2 separate regions of the Homo sapiens genome follow, and region 1 is linked to region 2. Evidence: promoter capture Hi-C in 16 types of primary human blood cells and fetal thymus (Javierre and others, 2016). All regions are on one chromosome and are shown on one strand. The core of a region is centred on a gene start or on the middle of the fragment in contact, and the rest is flanking DNA. Distances in the headings are between cores, read along the strand shown. Region 1 overlaps PNKD (PNKD metallo-beta-lactamase domain containing). Region 2 holds the start of CXCR2 (C-X-C motif chemokine receptor 2).

The links. Contacts are between HindIII fragments. The CHiCAGO score rates a contact against its expected background, and 5 or more counts as called.
Region 1: a fragment that was not itself captured here is called in contact with the fragment with the promoter of CXCR2 in region 2 in 1 of 17 cell types (neutrophils); the score reaches 7.0 in neutrophils.

Annotation. Positions count from the first base shown.
Region 1 is chr2:218,293,566-218,297,128 of GRCh38, forward strand. All of the region lies in intron 2 of PNKD (PNKD metallo-beta-lactamase domain containing), which reads left to right. Among named protein-coding and RNA genes, the nearest start is that of TMBIM1, 2.8 kb to the left of the region's middle. RefSeq lists an enhancer at 1-462. The HindIII fragment of the contact is 1,157 bases long and covers 1,680-2,836 here.
Region 2 is chr2:218,124,161-218,127,651 of GRCh38, forward strand. It overlaps CXCR2 (C-X-C motif chemokine receptor 2), which reads left to right and starts at 1,868. Exons shown (of 3, transcript NM_001557.4): 1 at 1,868-2,193. The HindIII fragment of the contact is 2,247 bases long and covers 56-2,302 here.

The DNA.
Region 1 (3,563 bases), core at 1,008-3,507, 170 kb after region 2:
CACCACTGAATGTCCTTTTTTTTTTTTTTTTTTTTTTCCAGACAGGGTCTCGCTCTGTCACCCAGGCTGGAGTGCAGTGGCGCCATCTCGGCTCACTGCATCCTCCTCCTGGTTTCAAGTGATTCTCCGGCCTCAGCCTCCTGAGTAGCTGGGATTACAAGTGTGTGCCACTACACCCAGCTAATTTTGTTTGTTTGCTTGTTTGTTTTGTTTGGTTTGTTTGTTTTGTAGAGATGGGTTTTCACGTTGTTGCATAGGCTGGTCTCAAACCCCTGAGCTCAAAGCAGTCAGCCCACTTTGGCCTCCCAAAGTGCTAGGATTACAGACATGAGCCACCACGTCCAGCCCCAAAACAGAGATTTAAAAAAAAAAAAAAAAAAAAAAGACAGATTTTTAAAAACTGCCCCCCATACACACACTATGTATGTTTATTTCTGTAAATATAGTTTAAGTAGGAGTTACTTAGGGGGACTAGTGGCCGTTATGGTGGGCTAGCTCCCCAGACACCCCAACCCTTCAGTGTACTTCCAGTTCCTACAGGCCAAGAACCTCATTTTAGGAAGTCCCCACCCAAGGTGTGATCTCACCAGAGCAAGTACAGTTCTGCTCAGTGTCTGTCTCCCCCTTGCTCAAGGAGTAGCGCCCTAGGTGAAATGCATGGCCCATGGAATCTGTCCAGATCCCTGACATTTTTTCATGCTCTCTACACTTGTGCTGTCTTAGTCCATCTGGGCTGCTACAACAAAAATACCTTAGAGTGGGTAATTTAGAAACAGCAGAAATGTATTGCTCACAGTTCTGGAGGGTGGGAAACGCAACATCAAGGCACCAGCAGGTTAGGTGTCTGATGAAGGCTCCCTCTGCTTCACAGATATCGTCTGAGTCCTCATATGGCCAAGGAAGGAACAAACAGACACCGCCCCCCCACCAGCCTTCCTTTTTTTTGAGATGGAATCTCACTCTGTGCAATGGCACAATTGCAGCTCACTGCAGCCTTGACCTCCCATGTACAAGCAATCCTTCCAACTCAGCCTCCTGAGTAGCTGGGACTACACACATGCACCACCACACCTGGCTAATTTTTGTATTTTTTGTAGAGACAGGGTCTCACTATGTTGCCCACGCTGGTCTTGAACTCCTGGGCTCAAGCAATTTGCCCTCCTCCACCTCCCAAAGTGCTGGGATTATAGGCGTGAGCCACTGCACCTGGCCACCAGCTTCTTTTCTAAGAGCATGAATTCCATTCCAGAGGGTTCCGCCTTCATGACCTAATCACTTCCTAAAGGCCTCACCTTTTAATACTATAACATTGAGGATTAAGTTTCAACAAATGAATGGAGTGGGGACAACAACATTCCCACCATAGCAGGCCCCTTCTCCAGAAAACACCCTCCACTTTCTAGAACCACCAGGATGGTTAATATCCAAGGAGATTCCATTTCCAACCAGCAATCACCAGCGACTCACATCTGCCCGACTGGGGGAGTGGGACATGGGGCACACGAGGCAAGCCCACACAAGCCTTGCTGCGTGCTTTTTCTCCAGAGCCCTTTTTCTGACTATAGGGTCAAAAATAACACCTGAAGCGCCTGGCCCAGAGCAGCAGTGCTTCGCTGGCAATAGGCATTCGATAAATGATGTTTTTTTCTCTTGGGCCTTATCTGCAAAATTATTAAGTAAGCTTTTATTGTCTGCCAACCAGACAGGAATTTCCGGTTCTAGAAATGAGAAGGCTGAAAGAACACAGCCCCTGCTCTCAAGAAACTCACAGTCTAAGGGAGCCAGTAAAATGACAGATTATTACAATGTTGACAGTTTGACAAGTGCTGGCAGATAAAGAAATATTCACTTGGTTCCTCCAGATCCCAGAGAAAGCTCCTAACCCAGTGTGGGGAATGGGGTGGGGGTTCGGGAAAGGAGTTCAGAGGAGGTGACACCTGAGTAGAGTGTTAGGAGGTGTTAGGAACCAGCCTATTCGGAGGAGGGGAGAAGGTTCTCCAGGCAGAGGGCAAGGGACTTAGGGCCAGTTGCCCCAGCAAGCTAGGATGGGGGGTGGAGGGTGCAGTGGGGTAGAAGGGGTAGGAAATAGGGCTGGCCAAGGAGGCAGGGGGCCAGAAATTGAGATTTTACCCTGAAAGCAATGGGGAGCCAGAAAATAACCACCTAGAGGGAGTTTGGGAGGGTTGGGGAGGCTCTGGTGGTGCCCCTGGGGTAGGGTTCCAGCTTTAGCAAATAAAGATGCAAGGCAACCAGTTTGAGCTTCAGATAAACAACAAACCTTTTTTTTTTTTTTTTTCAAGACAAGGTCTGGCTCTGCACTCCCAGGCTGGAGTACAGTAGTGCGATCTTGGCTCGCGGCAACCTCCACCTCCCAGGCTCAAGCCATCCTCCCACCTCAGCCTCTCAAGTAGCTGGGACTACAGACATGAGCACCACCACGCCCGGCTAATTTTTGTATTTTCTGTGGAGACAGGGTTTTGCCATGTTGCCCAGGCTGGTCTTGAACTCATGAGCTCAAGCAATCCATCCGCCTCACCCTCCCAAAGTGCTGGGACTACAGGCATGAGCCGCTGCGCCCGGCCAAACAATATTTTTTCATATAAGCATATCCCACTGCCCCATATAATATTTGGAAATACTTGTACTAAAAAAAAGTACTCATTGCTTATCTGAAATTCACATTTAACTGGTTGGTTGTATTTTTCCAGCAACACTACCTAGGAGGAAAGTGGAGTCAAGTCCATGGCTGCAGGAAGAGGGGTGGAGGAGTGAAAGGGATTAGACTGATGTTTATTTTAGGACTGGATGTTATTTTAGGTATTTTAGGACTAGCTAAAGCTTAGTGATTGGTGGGAGGGGGTGGTGGCAGCCTGGAAGGGGTGGGCCCAGGTGGAACCTGAAGGACATGGGCAGGAAAAACTTAATTGGAGCGGTGGATCCAGAGAACTTTCTCTGTTGCCACCCTCCAGCCCAGCCCCAGGACTCCACTAATTGGTCCTCCAAACCCTTCTCATAGCTGCCTGGTTACCTAGCATTTAATGTGTTACTCTACCCATGCATTGATCACTAACTTTCTGAAAGAAGTTGCCTTTTTTCTGTTTTTCTTTTTCTTTCTTTCTTTCTTTCTTTTTGAGATGGAGTCTCACTCTGTCACCACGGCTGGGGTGCAGTAGCATGATCTCGGCTCCCTGCAACCTCCGCCTCCTGGGTTCAAGCGATTCTCCTGCTTGGCCTCCTGAGTAGCTGAGATTACAGGCGCCCACCACAATGCCCAGCTAATTTTTGTATTTTTAGTAGAAACAGGGTTTTGCCACGTTGGCCAGGCTGGTCTTGAACTCCTGGCCTCAGGTCATCCACCTGCCTTGGCCTCCCAAAGTGCTGGGATTACAGGCAAGAGCTACCGCGCCGCCCGAAGTTGCTTGTTTTCAGAGGACGTATTTACTGAATTGAGGCATTGAACCCAGCCTGAGGTGAAAGTGCCTGTTTCTCCCCACTGGAGGGCAGAGACAATGTCTCATTCACCCCTAGGCCTGGGCACGGCCCTGACCCAGCATCTGTTGAAT
Region 2 (3,491 bases), core at 618-3,117:
GTGTGTGGGAAGGTTTACTGTCTCCTACAGGGTTGGAATGGCAGGAATCTCTTTAAGCTTACCTCATTCTCTCGTGGGGTACTCTTTATTTATTTATTTAATTTTTCCCCAGTATTTTACTTACTGAGTTGATTCAGGCTTTGGACCAGTAGGGGAAGTATCCCTGGGTAGGCACCAGATGTAGCTAAAGTAGGTGGGTAGGCACCGGTTGTAGCTAAAGCAGGTGGGCAGAGATCCCAGCCTTGATGAGAGTGCCTGGGAGAGCTCTCAATTAGATGTGCTGAGGTTTTGTCAGGGTGAAGGGTAGGAGCTACCTCAGGTCCCCCACTAGGCCAGCTGGAAAGCTATCCACCTCCCAGCTTCACTCCTTTCCCAGTGTTCCAGCTATTCAGATCAGACAGGCAGTTATTTTCATCTGTAGAAATGTTGATGTTCCAAGTAGAGAGGAATTGTGACTGCCTGTCATGCAAACCTGAATCTGGGGAGTGCTCCTCCCGTGGGGATGCAATCACCCTGATTTGTTCCAGGAAGGCTGTCTATAGGTGCATCAATGCTGCGTTCCTTTGGGAGAAGCCCCAGCTCTGTCTGCAGTGGCGTACCAGGGGGAACAAGGATCCCTTCTCTAAGACCCTTCACAATACCAGAGGCTGCCTGCCTATTGGGTAGAGGTGCAAACTTTCCCCCACTCTGCCCAGCACAGCAATTGTCTCTGCAATAGGAAACTTCCCACCAGTGAAAAGATCTGGGACTCAAGCCCTGCCATTCAGATTCTTTTGTTCCACAGGGTATTCCCTTGATGTGATGTTCTTCCCCTTCCTCTAGGAATGGGACTTCCTGGAAGCCAGACTACAGTGCTCTTCTGGGTCTAGCCACCCAGTGGGCCTACCAGACTCTGGGCTGGTGCTAGGGAATGTCTGCAAGGGATCCAGTGGTGTTACCTGTCTTCAAGACTCCCAGCAGTGAATACCAGCACCATCTCTGACAGAAGTGGGAGGGGAGTGATGCAAACTCTGCAAGATTCCTTGGTTGTAGATAGACTTAGAGTATTGACTTTCTCAAATGCTGGTTATAATTATAGTGAACTTATCACGTGGACAGACGCAGGACTTCTGGTTAGCCAGGGTGTTGTAAGCAGTGGTGATAGCTGAGAATATGCAGCCGTTTTCTCCTTCCTGGGTACAGTGCTATTCTGCCTAGAGGTGAGTTTTTGCCTGTCTCACAGAGTAGGCTGCAGCCTGCCACTTCTTTCAAAAGTTCTGTGGATTCTTTCAGCTTTCCTGTTCAGTTCCTGCATTCGTTCCTGGAGAAAAAAAAATTATAGTGTGAATCTCTACACGCTATTCTGTCCTTCCAGATGGGAGAGGCATGCTAATGCTGCCTCCAATCTGTTGTCTTGGGGGGAAAGAAAGCAATTTGTTTTTGTTTTTTTTTTTAATGGATTTGCTGGGTTTAGTAACCCAGAGGTCATTGGGAACCTTGGCGAAAGTTATTTCAGTGGAGCAGTAGGAAGGAAGCCAGTTGCAGTGTCTTTGTTGAGCAGCAGAGGGGAGGTGAGGAAGTGGAGAGAGCAGCTGTGGTGGCTGAAGGGTGCTAGGACAGAGGGAGCATGATAAAGCCATAAGTAAGATGTGGTAGAAGGGAAAGAGCCAGGACAGAGGGGAGAGAAAGCAGGATCCTCAAGGACCAGAGAGGCAGTGGGTCCCACAGTCAGGTGCGGGGATTCAACAGAAACAGAAGGAGGGACGCTTCTCACTCTGACCCCGGAAAGAAGGAAGAAACTGCGTGCGAGTTCAGACAAGTCCGTTGGCGGGGGCTGGGATGCCTGCATCTTCCTTGTTAAAAAAGGAAGTGCAGGTTCAAAACATTCAGAGACAGAAGGTGGATAGACAAATCTCCACCTTCAGACTGGTAGGCTCCTCCAGAAGCCATCAGACAGGAAGATGTGAAAATCCCCAGCACTCATCCCAGAATCACTAAGTGGCACCTGTCCTGGGCCAAAGTCCCAGGACAGACCTCATTGTTCCTCTGTGGGAATACCTCCCCAGGAGGGCATCCTGGATTTCCCCCTTGCAACCCAGGTCAGAAGTTTCATCGTCAAGGTTGTTTCATCTTTTTTTTCCTGTCTAACAGCTCTGACTACCACCCAACCTTGAGGCACAGTGAAGACATCGGTGGCCACTCCAATAACAGCAGGTAGGTGACTTGTTCAGTCTGAGATGCTGGCAACATATTTCTAATGGAAGAGATCTGGAAACTTCAGCCTCCTCTGAGGCCCCTGAGAACTGGGGTGATGAAGTGTAGAAGCTTAGAGCTAAAGACAACTAAGTCTTCACCTAGACAGTGTTGCACAAAAGAATTTTCTGCAATAATAGAAATGTCCTAGACCTGCCCTGCCCAGTATGGTAGCCACTAGTCACACGTGGCCACGGAGCACTTGAAATGTGACTAGTGTGACTGCGGATCTCAATTTTTATTTCATTTTATTTTATTTTATTTTTTCTTTTTTGAGACAGGCTCTCACTCCAATGCCCAGGCTGGAGTGCTGTGGCATGATCTTGGCTCATTGCAACCTCAACCTACAGGTCTAGGTGATTCTCCCACCTCAGCCTCCCAAGTAGCTGCAGCTACAGGCATGTGCCGCTACACTCAGCTAATTTTTTGGGTTTTGTTTGTTTGTTTGTTTTGTTTTTGTTTTTGTAAAGACAGGGTTTCGTCATGTTGCCCAGGCTGATCTCAAACTCCTGGGCTCAAGCGATCCGCCCACCTCGGCCTCCCAAAGTGCTGGGATTACAGGCATGGGCCACCTTGCCTGGCCTTTATTTTAATTAATTTTAATTTAAATAGCTACACATGGCTAGTAGCTAGCATGCTGAACAGAATAGAATTAGAAGAAGCTCCCGTTTTCCAAAGGCACACAACAAGGCCCAGAAAGAATGACTTCTCCAAGCAGGATTAGAAGCCAGGTTTTTGTTTTGTTTTTGTTTGAGACAGGGTTTTGCTCTGTCGCCCAGGCTGGAATGCAATGGCACAATCTCGGCTCACTGCAACTTCTGCCTCCCGAGTTCAAGCAATTCTTATGCCTCAGCCTCTGGAGTAGCTGGGATTACAGGCGTGCGCTGCCACGCCTGGCTAATTTTTGCATTTTTAATAGAGGCGGGGTTTCACCATGTTGGCCAGGCTGTTCTGTAACTCCTGGCCTCGAGTGATCCACTCACCTCAGCCTCCCAAAGTGCTGGGATTACAGGCATGAGCCACCGCACCAGAAGCCAGTTTTTTAATTCACTCCACCCTGCATATAACCGCAGTGATCTCCATGGAAATGAAATTGACCTAAGGAGCATGAAGAAGGAGGCTGACTGGGAAATGTCAAATCTGGGCTCCCCTCTCTACATCCTTTGTATCTGACTTTCTGGGACACAGGGAGGTACCTAATGGAGCTCAGAAACTTTAGGCTGGGATCCTGCTCCTTATTACAGTGAACAGGAGATAGG